Linked DNA regions of Homo sapiens: regions 2, 3, 4 and 5 are each linked to region 1. Evidence: promoter capture Hi-C in 16 types of primary human blood cells and fetal thymus (Javierre and others, 2016). All regions are on one chromosome and are shown on one strand. The core of a region is centred on a gene start or on the middle of the fragment in contact, and the rest is flanking DNA. Distances in the headings are between cores, read along the strand shown. Region 1 holds the start of AJAP1 (adherens junctions associated protein 1). Region 2 holds the start of NPHP4 (nephrocystin 4). Region 3 overlaps NPHP4 (nephrocystin 4). Region 4 overlaps NPHP4 (nephrocystin 4). Region 5 has its middle 120 kb from the start of MIR4689.

Region 1 (2,912 bases), core at 256-2,755:
TGTGTTTACAGCGGGGTGGCCGCCGGAGCTCCCCAAGAACCCCAGCTCTCCCGCCCCAGCTGCCCGCCAGCTGTGAGCGCCCGTCGGGCCCGGAGGTCACCCGCAAACAGCTGGGTCGGCAGCTGGGAGCCTGGGAGGCCCCTGCTCAGCCCCGGGGCCCCGAGAAAGGAGAAGGGGGAGCGGAGTGGCTGTTTGGCTGTGGTTTCCTCCAACTCCGCCTGCGAAGCTCTCGCTGGGAGCCCGGAGCTTTAGCTTTCCCCGGCAGCCCCGGCCCCCGCGCCCGCCGCGCCCAGCGGCCGGCGCCTCGCCCCGGGCCCCGGGGAGGAGGCGCGCCGGGGCAGCCGGCCAGGACACTGCGCTGCTGGCTCCTAGAGCTGCGGGCGCGCCTGGCCGGCCCCACTTCCCGGGTTGCTGGGGCGGGCGCCGCTGCCCCGACCCCGGACGCGCGGAACCCTGGAGACCCGGCCGCTCCCCGCCAGGGCCGCGGTGCTGCTCCAGGCTCCGGGCGGGCGCCCCTTTCCGGCTACCGGTGCACCCCGTTGCCCGCTTGCGGGAAGCGAAGAGGGGTCCCTTGATTTGCAACATAGAGGAAAGCGCCGCTTCCGCCCAGCCTGGCACCCACGCGCCCACACGCACCCGGCGCCGGCCGGGTCGCTCACCTGAGTCCTAAAAGCTGTTGAATCCACATGGTCACGTTTCGGGGAGCGGGGCCTCAGACCTGGCTCGCCCAGGCCATCTGCGCGGCGCCCGCGCCCGCTCGCTTCCGTCCCGCGGCGCCGGTCTCCGGCTCTCGGTCCGCCGCCTCCCGCCGCCCGCCGGCCGCGGGGCGCACAGCGAGTCAGAGCGCGGCCGCGCGGGGCTCCATGCCGGCCGGCGCGCCGCCGCCGTTGGGGCGCATGGCTCAGGCTGGGCGGCCCGCGGGGGCGCACATCCTCCGGCCGGGGCGCGGGGCTCGCGGCCCCCTCCGCCGGCGGCACAGCGAAGGCGGCAGCGAGGCGGGGCGTGTTCCGGCGCTGTCGCGGCGCAGCAAAGGGCTGGGGAGCCGCGGCTTCGCCCTCCGGGGCGGCGAGGAGGGAGGCCGGCGGCGCTGCCGCTCACGGTGCGTGTCTCCCGGCGCGCGGCTCTTGCCTCCAGCCGGAGCTCCGCGCCGATGGGGCGGCGCTGCTTAGGGTTTGGGGTGACGCGACGCGGACGGACGCGAGTCCCCTCCGCGCTGCCGGGTCGGGGGGCTCTGCCAGAGGCTCCGCCGCCGATCGGCGCCACTCAAGTTGCCCGGGGGCTCCGTCTGAGCGCTCGCTCTGCAGACGGCCGCGGCCCGGAGACTGGCAGGAGGCGGGCACGAGAGGCGCGCGGGGCGAGGGCGCCGTGGAGCGCGGGGCGTGGGGACGCGCGGCGGCGGCGCCGCGCGGAGGAGGCGCGCGGGGATCCCGGGGCCCCGCCGCCCGCGCCCACCGCGCCCGCCGCAGAGCCGCCCGCGCTGCTCAGCCGCCTCCCTCCTCGCGTCTGCCTCTCCGCGCGCTCGCCCCCGCCTCCCGGAGCCGGTCCCAACTCCGCCCGCCCGGCCCGGCTCACGTCACCCGCCTTCCCCGCCCCTCGAACGGGAGCTCGAGCCCCTGGCCTGGCCCCGGCTCCTGCTCGCCGCCCCACCTTGCGGGGGCCGGGGTCGCCGCGGGTGGTGGGGGGCGCTGTGCCCAGCAGGGGCGACAGCGCAGGCGGGGCCTCCTGCAGCCCCCTTCCCCATCCCCGGTCGCGTCCCGGTCCCCACCTTGCGAAAGGCTCGAGAGAGGCCGCAGGCTAGGATTGGACCGCCGGGCGCCGCCGGATGGTGTTGCCAGGGTAACCGGATGGCACGCGAAGCCGTTCGAGGTTCCGACCCGGTTACGGGGGCGCCCAGTGGACCCGGAGAGCTACTTTGGGGAGGGGGCGGCCCCGAAGAAGGACTGGGTGGGGGCGCATGGAGCGGGGGCTGCGCGAAAAGTTTCCTGGGGCGGAGCTGAGCCACGCGGGCCGCGCAGGAGCGTCTGTCCGAGGGTCGCCTACGAGGGACTCCTCTGCTCGGCTGCGCGGGCTTCTGCGTTGATGAAGTCACCGCGTTCCGGGTCGGAGCTTCGGCGCTTCTGCCCCGAACCCAGCGAAGCCCGGTCCTATGCCCCCAATTACCCAACGGTCCCTCATCGCCCAGCGCAGCTGCTGCCTGGCCAGGCCCTTGCTCCGGAGGAGTCACTGGAAAGTTCCAGGGAATCTGGGCCTCCCGGACTCTCCACCGGCGTTTCACTGCTCCCTTCCCATGCCAGGACTCCTCTGTGCCTACCTGGTTAGTCTGTATTTGCAAAAAACAAACAAAAACAACAACAAAAAACAAATGGGGGGCACTTAAAGGAGGACAGACGCTGGGCGGGGACCTTTCACTGAGAGAAGTGACATGGGGCGGAATCCTCTGCAGACCCGCTGACGCCTTGAGAAACCACGGCAAAACCCTGCTTTTAATCCTCCACAGGCTGAGGGCAGTGCAGAATCCGGGCCTTGGAAAGGACACTGGTGCCACCCTTCACTGGGGAAAGGTGCAAGGGGCGGGGGATATACCATGCCGAGCCTTCGCTCTGTGCTCTGTGCAGGTGCTTGACCCAGGCCAGCTCTGGAATCGCCCCAGGCCATGTGAGAGCCGTGGGGGGTGAGAGGGGCGGGAAGCACTTCACAGGTGAGGCCTCCCTGGGAGGGGCAGCCAGTGAGGGGGTGGAAGGGCAGAGCCAGGAGGACCATGGCTTGGGGCTCAGTCTCCCAGGCGAACCATAGCTTGGGGCTTAAGTCCCCCAAGCAGCCCTTTCACCCCCAGGCCTCCAGGATCTTTGCCAACGGTCTTGAGGAGCCAGGCACAGGATTGGACTCTGCCCGGGCAGGAGGATGAAGACAGT
Region 2 (2,912 bases), core at 123-2,622, 1.3 Mb before region 1:
GCTGAATCACAAAGTGAGGCTGAGCAGGAAAGTGGGGGTGGGGAGGGAAGGAGACGGTGGCCAGGGAGGAAAGGTGCTAAGGGGCTTTCCACCTGGAGCACCCCGGGATGCTGCGGGCAAAGCACAGTCCCTGTAAGAGCCCCCAGGACAAATGCCAGGAGGAGGGACACCAGGATGCGGCTGGTTGGCGGGGTGGGAAGGTGGGCAGGTACCCCGGCTGCTGCTAATGCCGCAGGACGCGGTGCAGCAGTGGGGTCTTTGCATCCTGGGAGCAGCAGCAGGTAGGGAGGTGCGGAAGTGCTTTGTGCCAAGGCCTGGCAGGAGGGAGAAGCTTAAGATAGGAGTAGGGGCTCAGGGTCAGAAGTGGCGGTGTGTGTGCTGTAAACAGCCCGAGGAACTGGTGCAGGAAGCAGGGTCACAGTCTTGGGGAGCAGGGTAAGGTGGTGAGAGCGTGCCCGCGGGGAGAGGTCGGAGGGGCTGGGGGCAGAATGGGAGGGTGGGGAAAGGGACCGGAGCGACACAGGGACAGGCAGCGAGAACGACGGATGAGCCTTGAGAAGCGATCAGGAGGAGAGATGGGGAGGACCGGGAACAGCAGCGCCCCGGTGGGGCTGCGCAGAGGCCGGGAGAGGGGATGAGAGGAGGATGGAGGAAAGGGGAGGGCGAGGCTGCTAGGACCGGAGCGGGCAGAGATGGGGAAGAGGTGCACCGGGAAGAGGGACGGCGGCAGGGGCAGGGGTCAGGGATGCGAGCTGAAGGGTCGGGCGGGCGGGAGGACAGGGAAGGAAAGACAGAAAGGGATGGGGGAAGGGAGACGATGGAGAAGGAGGTGAGGAGGCTGGAGAGGAGGTGAGACAGCGGCGGAGGCAGGGACGCAGGGCCGGGGAAGAAGAGATGGAGACGGGACCGCGGCGCCTGCCGCAGCGCGGGCCTCGCGGATACCCGCCGCCGCCGTCCCGGAGCAGCTTGGTGGAAAGCGCGCCCCGCCGGGGTCTCCCCGGTACTCACCTGGGGGCTCCAGCTCCGGATCCTGTGCCCCGCGCCGGATCTTCCTTCCCGCCCTGCCCCTGCGACTTTAGCGCCCCCGAATCCCGCTAGCTCCTGCAGGTTCCGCCAGCAGCATCTTCACCTCGTGGGACGCCCGGGGCCACGCCTCTTCCAGCTTCTGATTGGCTATTGTTCACGCCAGTCACATTACCATTGGTTGAGGGGTCGTCGGACATGCAAATCAGGATGGGCCCGCCGCCGCACCGATTGGCTGGCGCTCGCAAAGCGCAGCCCTCGACTTGGGCTCTGATTGGCTCCGCGGCCCTGACGGCGACAGTGACGCGAGGCGGGTTCTTGGACTGAGTGTGCGGCGCGGTGCGCCGCCTTCCGAGGCTCCTCCCGCGGGTGGCAGCGGACGGGGCGCGCCCCTCGGCCAGTCCTCGGTCCTCAGGCTTGTGGCTCCGTTGAGCACCGGCCGCCGGGCCTCTGGGTCCGTCGAGTGGAGACTCTCTGAAAAGCGTGGGCTCCGTGGCCTCCGGCGCGGCCGCGGCGGGTCGGTCTCCTAGGTAACGCGGCCCGCGGCGGGCGGAACCATGTGGGCCGGCGCCGCGGGGGAGGTTGGACGCGGCCTCGAGGCACAGGGGGCCTCAGTGTTGGCCAGAGCCTCGGGGTTCGGGGGTAGGGTGGTCCACGCCGTCCCTGCGTGGGGGCCCGGTGCCTGGGGTGCGGCGGTGGCGCGCGGCGGGGGCTGTCCCCGCGTTAGTCGCAGGCGTCCCCCCTCGTCGGGACACTTGGGGTCGGGGCCGCTGGGTGCCGTTTGGCTACGTGGGTTCCTTTCTGCCCTTGCCCTTTGCCCCCTGCCCCCTGCCCCCTGCCCCCTGCCCCCTGGCCTCTCTGCAGCCCCTCGGCTGAAGGGAGCGCGGTACCGATGTTCTGGGCCTTGGCTCCCCGCGCCCTAGTCCGCGCGCATCCTTCCCAGGCCGGAGTCCGCGGACCCCGCCTGGCCGCGCCCCTCCGCCCCTCCTCCCCGCCCCCCGGCTCCAGCTCCGGCTCCGGCTGTCAGTTCCCCGCGGTGGCTCTGCGGCCTTCGGGCGTCCCTGCGAGGCTTTGTACCCGGCGCCGTCCCGGCCTTCTGCGCCCCTTTCCTGCCTTGGAACCTCCCGGCCGACCCGGCCCGGAAGGCGCCACCCGCTCCCGCGTGCCCTTCCCCACGCGTGCAGGCTGCTCCCGCCCGCCCCCGGGCTTGCAGGCACCTCGCTGCCCGAGATTCCTCGTGTCTAACTTCTTAGGAGACCGCTGCTTTCTGCCTCCGTGTGTCGCGATGTGTGGCTTTGGTGGACGTCTGTGAAGGAAATCCAGCCTCTCGCGTGTGTAGTTGGCAAAAGGAGGAGTATTTCTGTTGATGGTGGGCAGCGCCTCCCGGTCCTAACCCAGGGCTCCGTTCGTTGCACCTCCTCTGTGCAGTTTCCGTAGGTCACACTTGTGTCTTTTTGTATGCTAATTTGTGCCCCGTTTCTTTACATTCTATGGGGGTAGCGAGCTTGTCTGCTGTGTTCAAGACCGTTTCTCCCGGGCGCAGGGTAGGTGCTGAAAGAATGCTCATGAATGAGGGAATTCCAGGCAGTGCTTAATCAGACCTCTGCTTCCCCAAAAGCTCCCCAAGGCATCTGGGTCTCAGGCATTACACATTTTCCATTCCGGGAAGGAGGCTTCCCGGACCCTGACAGCGCCTCCCACCCCCTGCATCTTCCTTCAGCCCTGCTCACCTCTGCACCCTCCCGGGGGCCTGTTGCTGCTCACAGTCACTTTCTTGTCTTTCTCCCCCACTGGCTTTCTAGATGCTTGAAGACAGCACATTTGACAGCCTTCTTATGCACTGGAACACAAGTGCTCGGGAAATAGTTGCTGAATAGATCAGCAGAAGC
Region 3 (2,912 bases), core at 187-2,686, 1.3 Mb before region 1:
GTTTTCAGAAGGAGAAATGATTGGTCTCTGTGACGTTTCCAGTGTTTAATTGTACAGTGATTGAACTGTCAGTCATCTGGGGACAATGGAAAGCTGTAAGTTTGTCAATTTTGTTGTTGTGTGTTCACAGCAGCATAGTGTGGGATCTTTCTTTTCTAAGAGATGGGGTCTCACTATGTTGCCCAGGCTGGAGTGCAATGGTGCGATCATAGCTCATTGCAGCCTTGGACTCCTGGGCTCAAGTGATCCTCCCTCCTCAGCCTCCCAAGTAGCTGGGACTACAGGCATGCATCACCAGACCCAGCTAAATGTTTTTATTTTGGTAGAGCTGGGGTTAGATATTTCTTGCTTTGGGTTATAATCATGTCTGCTCACTTACTTTTCTAAGTAAGCCAAGGAGTTGCTCTTTAGGCCAGAGGGAGAACTGGCTTTCGCCATGGGCGTCGGAGTTGAGGTAGGATGGGCTAGTGTCCTACTCCATCACTGATCCCAGTGGGACTTCAGACAAGTGCTTTAAACTCCTTGATCCTAGAGGGTGAGGGATAAAAGACTACAAATTGAGGCCGGGTGCAGTGGCTCATGCCTGTAATCCCAGCACTTTGGGAGGCCCAGGTGGATGGATCACTTGAGATCAGGAATTTGAGACCAGCCTGGCCAACATGGTGAAACCCTGTCTCTACTAAAAATTTAAAGATTAGCTGGGCGTGGTGGCACACACGCGTAATCCCAGCTACTTGGGAGGCTGAGGCTAGAGAATCACCTGAGCTCGGCGGGTGGAGGTTGCAGTGAGCTGAGATTCACGCCACTGCACTCCAGCCTGGGTGATAGAGCAAGACTCTGTCAAAAAAAAGAAAAACCAAACAAAAAAAAACCCTACAAATTAGGTTCAGTGGATACTGCTCGGGTGATGGGTGCACCGTAATCTCACAGATCACCACTAAAGAGCTTCCTCATGTAACCAAATACCACCTGTTCCCCAAAAACCTATGAAAAAAAAGAAAGAAAGAAATTAAATTAATTTGCAAGAAAAAAATAAGCTCCTCCTGACTTGATTCATTTGCTCATGAGAGATAAAGAGTGTGCATCCCCTAAGTGCTGCTGGAGTATTTAGTCATGTGCTTTTCCATAAGCAGGGACCCAGTGGGCAGTAGTTTTTATTCAAGAAATGTTGGTTAAGGGTCTTCTGTGTGCCAGGCTGTGTTTAGGAGCTGGAAGTGCAGAGATGGATAAGATGTTGTATTATCCTTTCAGCCAGGATTAAAGTTTACATTTTTACTCCAAATGAGAGTTTCTCAACCTTGGCACTGCTGACATTGTGGGCTGGATAATTCGTGGGGCAGGGGGCTGTCCCTGTCCCTGTCATGATGCTTTGCTGTGGAAATCTGGGCTCCCCCGATCCCTGCTGTCTTTGAGGGGTAGTGTCTGGGAAGCCCTCCGAACCCGCAGTGTGAGTCTGAGCCAGAGGGTAGGAACTGCATGAAGTCTCTGCATTGTTTGCCTGGCTGAAGATATCCTGTTAAAGGCTTATTAAAACAGTTCTTTGGAAGGGACTCATTCTGTTCCTGCTCAGCTCCTCTCTGGCCTTGCTGCCCAGCGTTGTCTGAGGAGCCCATGTCATGCAGGTGCCAGGTCATGTGGCCGTGCCATGGGGGGTGCCCGGCTGCGGCCTCTTCATCCAGGCACATCGGCAGAGGCCCAATTCCACTTCCATCACTGCGGGTGAAAAATGGAAACTGGGCCCCGAGGCAAAATGGTGTCCGTGTTTTTGAAGATGAAGGCATTAAGACAGGAGCATTTAAATGATTTATTAATCTGTTTATGCTGTCAAGGAGGAAACTTGACCAGTGCAGATAAGTGAGCTGCGAGGCAGGGGTGACAGAGAGCCCGTCTCCCTCTGTCTCCAGTGACCTTGCCCTGCAGGCGATTTGATGGGCTTGACTTAACCTTTTAATAGTGCAGTTTCAGTTGATGTAGAGAATGTTCCTTTCCAAATGTATGGCAGTGGCGCTCGTTAAGTTTCCCTAGACTGAAGGATGTGTGTACAGGTATTCCTCAGCTGGGTGCTGCCTGGCTGAGTGAGGCGGGAATTGGGTGGTCAGGCACCGGTGACCTGGTCGAATATGACTTTGCTGGGGTGACCCGAGGGGTGCAGCCATGTGGCTCTGTTGCTCGCAGTTTTGTGCCTGCCTCATCTGTCGTTTATGAAGCCTTCGAGGCTCGAGCTTCTTGAAAGCTGACTTGTGTTTTCCAGGTTCGTTATAAATTCTTTAGCTTGGGGCTGTTCCCACACTGGAGGGTCAATAAATGATTTTTGGAAAAGAACATATGTCCTTATCAATCAGTAATTGTACTGGTACAACCATCTGAACTTTTCAAACATGCTGCACTTGGAGCGGCTGACTCTTCTGATTAAAGATGGATTCTTTAGATTCTAAGGTTGGATCAGCTGAGACAAGCAGCTCTGGGGCTCTGTTGCTGTTGTTGTTGTTTTTGGCCTCAGAGTGATTATTTTTAGTGGTAAACAGAAGGGAGAGGCATAGCCATAAACTTGTATTTGGGACATGCCCGTAGCGGCAGGTTCCACCCGGTTCAGGTAGAGTAATTTCAGGGTGACCTCTAGGCTGGCAGATTGTTGTTGCTGGGTATCAGAGTTGAAAATGTTTATTGCCAATAGAAAAAGTGAGTAGTGTTCGTAAGACTGATAAGCACAGGTATAAATAGAAAAGGTGAGTTAATGACCAACTCGACTTTGCAGTGGGGCTTTTTAAAAGCGGTTCTGGAGTCTTGGAAACAAACATAATTCTCTCTTAGTCCAACCACCTGTCAGCTGTAAGTGGTCATTATTTCATCATATTGCAATAAAAGATAATAGAATAACGATTTATATCTCATGGCTGATGTTTTAATGCATC
Region 4 (2,912 bases), core at 136-2,635, 1.3 Mb before region 1:
AGCTGTCTCCAGAGCCCGCGCTGGCCATCAAGATGGTCATTGCCTTAACAGGGAGGTTTGTTCGATAGGAACGCAGGCGGCTAGAACTGGCAGGGCCTTGGAGGTGCTCAGTCCAGTGCTGGCAAGGGACAGAGAGGCAGAGGCCAGGCCGCCCCTGTAGCTTGAGATGCTTTCTCCTTTCTTGCTTGTTTTCCTTGTTAATAATATTCTTATTCAGATATTATGATCTGGGGGAGATCATGGAATCACCTCTCTGTCATTAAATAAAGGAACTTGAGAAGCGGTCCCAGGTTCCAGAGCTGCCCTGGCCAGGAGGCTGCAGGCATCACTCCCTTCCGTGGCTGGATCCAGGGCTACCCCGTTCCCCGGTGTGGCCAGTGCATGTTGGGAGCTTTGTGGACGGACTGGCAAGCTTCTGAGCCCCTCACCTGTGCTCTCTTTCCTTCCAGTTGTCAATTTCCCAGCTGGCGGCCTCCCCGCGGTCCCCGACTCAGCACTGCTTGGCCAGGCCTACTTCACAGCTACCCCATGGCTCTCAGGCCTCCCCGGCCCAGGCAGTAAGTGCCGCCCACCTGCCGCCTTGCCTTCCACCAAGGAATGGCTCCACAGCTCCTCATTTTGGGTTTTTGCACTGTGCCTGTCCTTAGTTAGGTGGCAGAGACCTTGGCGGGTTACCTGGGATGTGGGTGGGAGTGGGGCATTGCTTACTCTGAGGCCTCAGACAGTTGTCACCATTCTGTCTTGGAGACCAAAGAAGAATGTGGCCCATGAGTTCTTCATACCACAGCGCTTGACTCAGATTGTGCTCTACCCATGAAAACAAAGTTAAGCTACCCCTAGGTCTCTACGTGAAAGTAAAAGGAAGGTGTGGCTATATCTATAGACAGGCTGAGACAGGCACCCAGCACCCCAGGACCCTCCTTGCTATCAGCAGCTAAAGGAGGTGAGTGGAGCCCGCCATCCTGGCTTCAGGGTGTGCTCCTGGCTAAGACTGGCATTGCCACTGGCCTTGGGGAATTCCTATGGAGTTTGGTTTCCAAAGTCGGCTGGTTCACCTGCAAACTGCATCTTTGGTCTTAACTGGAATTATGTTGAGGAAAAATAGTTTCTTTTAATTCCTTGTTTGAAAACACTCCTAGCACCATGAGTCTCTGCTGCTTTATCTAAAGCATCTCTGGGGCTCATGTGTTTGTGAAGAGCTTGCCTAGCTTTTTATTATTGGCGCATGAGACATGGTGTGAGGGTGACCTGGTTTCCTCTGGGCTGAAACAGAAAGCTTGGGAATGAAGCTTGAGAGAGCACATTCCCAACTCCCAAGCCAGCTCCTCTCTGAGAGGCCTGCCTCGGCCTTGGAGGGGAGTGGAGGTGGAATACGAGTGAATGACAAGAAGTTTCAGGGGCTGTGGGGACAAGAGACTGTCCAAACACGCCAGCCAGGGGCTCGGTGCCACAGTTTATCTTGGAGTATTGAGGAAGCTTCATCTTTCTGTTCTATAAACATGCTTTGATATGAATTTACCATCTCAGGTGTCAGGTATCTCCCACGGTCCTGACCTGCTCATAAAATTAGGATTCCCTCCTCACCGCTTCTCAACTCACACATTGGATTGCCACGTGAAATATAGGATGCCCAGTTAAATTTGAACCTCAGGTACACAACAAATAATTTTTTAGTGTAAGTATATCCCAAATATCGTAGGGACCATACTTATACTAAAATCATTTGTTGTTTACCTGAAATTCAAGTGTAATTGAACCTTTTGTATTTGCTAGAGCTGGCAACCCTCCAGAGGCAATTAATCGATGAATCCCCTTAGATCTGAGCACCGTTGGTTGTTACGGGTTGGGGTCCTTGGTGGCCTCACTTGGAAGCCCTCGTTTTGTTCAGCAGGAGTTCCCGTTGGAGGCCGGTATCTCCCACCTGGAAGCCGACCTGAGCCAGACCTCCCTGGTCCTGGAAACATCCATTGCCGAACAGTTACAGGAGCTGCCGTTCACGCCTTTGCATGCCCCTATTGTTGTGGGAACCCAGACCAGGAGGTGAGGTGTGGGTCTGGGTGGGATGGAACCAGTCACGTGCTGTGCCGTCAGACTGTTGGACCTTGTGAACCCCAGGGTTTCCACAGGGAGGTGCATCAATGGGTCCCCCCTTTCCCGGGAGGCTACCTGAGGAGTCTCTGTGTCTCAGCTCTGCAGGGCAGCCCTCGAGAGCCTCCATGGTGCTCCTGCAGTCCTCCGGCTTTCCCGAGATTCTGGATGCCAATAAACAGCCAGCCGAGGCTGTCAGCGCTACAGAACCTGTGACGTTTAACCCTCAGAAGGAAGAATCAGATTGTCTACAAAGCAACGAGATGGTGCTACAGTTTCTTGCCTTTAGCAGGTAAATCCTTGAATATTCTGTTACTCATCTGGCTTTCACATTTCCTGTGTTGAAGAGAAACTTCGCTGAGGTTCTGACCTGGCAGAACTGTCTGTGCTGAGGTCTTAGTAGATTCGGGAGTGCCATCTGTTTTTATCTTCTCTTGGCTAGGACCCACCCACAGCATGCTAAATGCTGTGAAAGCTGCTTTACCCCATCTTTTGTGGTCCTTCATTAAAATGTGGACGGTGGGTTGTCCAGGTCTTAGATCTTAGTGTAGCTCCAAAGGCAGCTTCTCTAGCCGGGAGTGTCCTTACACTCGAGAATGCTGCTGTCTGGCCGGCTTGCTGAGAGCACAGCAAAGCGGTTGCATTGGTGACCACGGCAGCCTCTTTACTGTTCCCCAGCGACTAAGGTGCCTGGACCATCCCCTATGCAAACACACATTAGACCCCTCAGGTTCTGTGCCATGGATACTCAGTTAACCCAGAGCTGTTGTTGGATTCAGAGTGGCCCAGGACTGCCGAGGAACATCATGGCCAAAGACTGTGTA
Region 5 (2,912 bases), core at 155-2,654, 1.1 Mb before region 1:
CTTCCAGGTCTAGGACCTGGCCAGGGACCCAGTCCAGGTCAGCGTCCCTTGTCTGCAGTGCCGATTGGCTGGGCTCTGGGCAGGACAGTCCTCATTCACTTGCTTGTCGTTGGTGGCAGGACTGTCATGGCCAGAGGATCCCTGGTGCTAACTGGCCTCCCCTGTCAGCTGCTGCCTGAGCAGAAAAGGGAGCAACTACAGGGCAGCCTTTCCCGGAGCCCCCTCTTCCCTTCTGAGCGCCTGCAAAAGGTGCTGGGTGCTGGCCACGCTGCCCTGCCTGCCTGGCTCTGGCCCCCCCCAGAACCCTTCGCAGGGGCTCTCCCAAGCATGGGGAGCTCCTGGACCAGCGCCCTCCTCCTTAGGGTCTGGGAGTTAAGTCCACGTCTTGGTGCCATGCCCCATGGCTGCCACCAGGGGTCAGCAGGCCCATGGCGGGTTGCAGGGTGGATGCTGTGGCCGGAGGAGCGGCAGGGACGGGAGTTCTGAGGGGTAAAGCTGGCAGCAACCTGGACGCAGGCATTGGCTGGTGTCTTGGAGGTCAACCCTGGCCAGGCCCTCTGGCTGGCTGAGCTGTGGTCTTTAGCCACTGGGGGCATAGGGGGTGTCAGCTGCCTTGGAAGAGCTACAGGGGTCCCAGTTGCTGACGCTGGTGCCTTCTGGGGGACCCCAGGCAAAGCTCAGTGCTCATGACCGTCATGACCAAGGTGGCGTTCGGAGTCATTCCAAGCAGTCTTTAAATCCTGTGTGGCCTTGGGCCACTTCCTTTACCTCTCTGAGCCTCAGAGAACTTTCCATCTGCAAAATGGGAGAAATGATCAAAGGGCTGTTGGAAGGATCCAACGAAATAACACATGCAAAGAACTTAGCACAGGCTGGCGTGACACGGTCACGCAATAAACCGTACAATTGTCATTACTGTCATCAATAGAGTTTTCAGGGGGATCGTCCTGTCTGTCATCGTCTTCTCCAGGATGCTCCTGCTGGTTTTTAATGTTTCTAATCTCCTGTTGATTATTCTTGGGGTTTCAGCCAAATAAGTACTGCCAATTAAAGCTCTTGCTGTAGCTCCGGGTGGGGTTGCCATGGCAACGGGAGCAGAGCTTTCACTTCTTCCTTGGAATACACACACACGTGTGTGAGTCTTTTTGTGGGTTTCTGCCCGTGTGTCTAGCTGTTACCAGAACTCCCTGCCGCGGAGCCGGAGGTGGCAGGTGGGAAGAGAGAGGGAGGAAAGTGGGGCATGGGGTGGCATGTGGGGGCCCCTCCTCCTGCACGGAGCCCCCTTCAGCCTGGGAAGCCTTTGCCTGGGATGCTGCAGCCAGCGTTATGAGGGAACGAACGTGGGTTTCCCCGTGCAAACTTGCTCTGCCCCCGCAATGGCCTCAGGGGCCCTGTCCAGCCTGGTTGGCAGGATGAGGCTGTGCTGGGTGACGGACAGCCCTGCCTGAGTCTTCAGAGCGTCACAGATGTGTGTGTGCCTGTGTGTTGTCTCTGTGTGTATCTGTGTGTGTGTCTCTCTGTGTTCCTGTGTGTCTGTCTGTGTGTCTGTATGTCTTTTTCTGTGTATCTGTGTATGTGTCGTGCTTGTGTGTGTCTGTGTGTATTTCTGTGTGTGTCTGTGTGTTTGTGTGTATCTGTGTCGCTTTCTCAGTTTGTGTGTCTTTTCCTGTGTGTGTCTGTGTGTCTCTTTGTGTGTACGTGTGTGTGTCTCTGTGCCAGTGACTCTGTATCTGTGAGCGTGCGTGTGTGTTGGGGGCTTGAGTTGGTCATCAAAGCTGAATCTCAGACAGGCTACAGGATTCTAAACTCAGCTCAGGCCTGGGGTTAATTGAGGTCCAGGGAGGGGCTGAGCTGGAAGCAGAGCTGGGGGCTCACTCTGACCTCTGGCTTCTCTGAATTCCAGATGCAGTCAGCATCAGGCCTACCCCCGTGTCAGCACTGGGAGCTCCTGGAAGGAGGGCCGGCTCTTGGATGTGGGGATTGGCTGGGACTTTTTTCAGTTGAAAGGGTCAAAGTAGCGTGAGTAAAATTAAATAAATACATGGAAGAAAGAAAGAGAGAAAGGAAGGAAGGGAGGGAGGAAGGAAGGAAGGGAGGGAGGGAAGAAGGAAGGGAGGGAGGGAGGAAGGGAGGGAGGGAGGGAGGAAGGGAGGGAGGGAGGGAAGAAGGAAGGGAGGGAGGGAGGGAAGAAGGAAGGGAGGGAGGGAGGAAGGGAGGGAGGGAGGAAGGGAGGGAGGGAGGGAAGAAGGAAGGGAGGGAGGGAAGAAGGAAGGGAGGGAGGGAGGAAGGGAGGGAGGGAGGGAAGAATAAAGAAAGAAAAAGAAAGAAAAAAAGAACACCCCCCCAGGTGCACATGGAGACTCTGCGCTGGGGCCCAGTTACCCAGGGTCGAGGCCCAGCCAGCTTCACTCAGAGCTGGATCTGGGCTCTGTGAGCGTGGCAGGCCCGACTTTCTCCAGAAAAGTGTTTGGAGCCCTGTGGCTGGGCTGGAGCTGGATGTCTTCTGTAAAGGGGCAGAGCTTCTTGCTGGTAGTGTGGACACAGCAGATCTCATGGAAGGGTGGGACCAGCCTTGCTGGGGTCCAGCACCCAGGCCTGGGCCACCTCAGGGCTTGGGGACGGTGGTCGTTGGCTGGGTCCAGGTCTCCTTTCCCCAGGGCTAGGGTGGGTAGCAAAAATGGATGCACAGTGCCTAGGACCACATGGGCAGGGAGACGGGGAGGCTGCCCCAGGACCCTGCATCCACACCTGGGGGACGGGCTTGCCTTTGCTGCTAGGCGAGGAATGCCTCCCTGAACAGAGCTTCATGTTCTGCACCCGTGATGTGATCCGCAATGTGCAGGGGCTGACGAAGGGGCTGTCGGCTGGGCTCTCTGTGAGCCTGTGATCTCCTCACCACCCCTGCACCTCTG

The links. Contacts are between HindIII fragments. The CHiCAGO score rates a contact against its expected background, and 5 or more counts as called.
Region 2: the fragment with the promoter of NPHP4 here is called in contact with the fragment with the promoter of AJAP1 in region 1 in 1 of 17 cell types (endothelial precursors); the score reaches 6.4 in endothelial precursors.
Region 3: a fragment that was not itself captured here is called in contact with the fragment with the promoter of AJAP1 in region 1 in 1 of 17 cell types (endothelial precursors); the score reaches 5.9 in endothelial precursors.
Region 4: a contact is called between a fragment that was not itself captured here and the fragment with the promoter of AJAP1 in region 1, in 2 of 17 cell types (total CD4 T cells and naive CD8 T cells). The highest score is 5.7, in total CD4 T cells.
Region 5: a fragment that was not itself captured here is called in contact with the fragment with the promoter of AJAP1 in region 1 in 1 of 17 cell types (naive CD8 T cells); the score reaches 5.5 in naive CD8 T cells.

What each region holds. Positions count from the first base shown.
Region 1 is chr1:4,653,202-4,656,113 of GRCh38, reverse strand. AJAP1 (adherens junctions associated protein 1) reads right to left here and starts at 1,505. Exons shown (of 6, transcript NM_018836.4): 1 at 660-1,505. The coding sequence starts at 688. The HindIII fragment of the contact is 10,824 bases long and covers 1-2,912 here.
Region 2 is chr1:5,990,885-5,993,796 of GRCh38, reverse strand. It overlaps NPHP4 (nephrocystin 4), which reads left to right and starts at 1,372. Exons shown (of 30, transcript NM_015102.5): 1 at 1,372-1,553. It also overlaps a transcript of KCNAB2 not described here. RefSeq lists enhancers at 23-72, 1,949-2,803 and silencers at 823-1,072, 1,153-1,332, 1,373-1,542, 1,693-1,872. The HindIII fragment of the contact is 3,854 bases long and covers 334-2,912 here.
Region 3 is chr1:5,970,834-5,973,745 of GRCh38, reverse strand. All of the region lies in intron 3 of NPHP4 (nephrocystin 4), which reads left to right. Among named protein-coding and RNA genes, the nearest start is that of NPHP4, 20 kb to the left of the region's middle. RefSeq lists an enhancer at 1,630-2,129. The HindIII fragment of the contact is 8,814 bases long and covers 1-2,912 here.
Region 4 is chr1:5,904,760-5,907,671 of GRCh38, reverse strand. It overlaps NPHP4 (nephrocystin 4), which reads left to right. Exons shown (of 30, transcript NM_015102.5): 13 at 450-557; 14 at 1,889-2,040; 15 at 2,189-2,380; 16 at 2,868-2,912. Among named protein-coding and RNA genes, the nearest start is that of MIR4689, 43 kb to the right of the region's middle. The HindIII fragment of the contact is 187 bases long and covers 1,292-1,478 here.
Region 5 is chr1:5,743,483-5,746,394 of GRCh38, reverse strand. No RefSeq gene overlaps it. Among named protein-coding and RNA genes, the nearest start is that of MIR4689, 120 kb to the left of the region's middle. RefSeq lists an enhancer at 1-597. The HindIII fragment of the contact is 4,867 bases long and covers 1-2,912 here.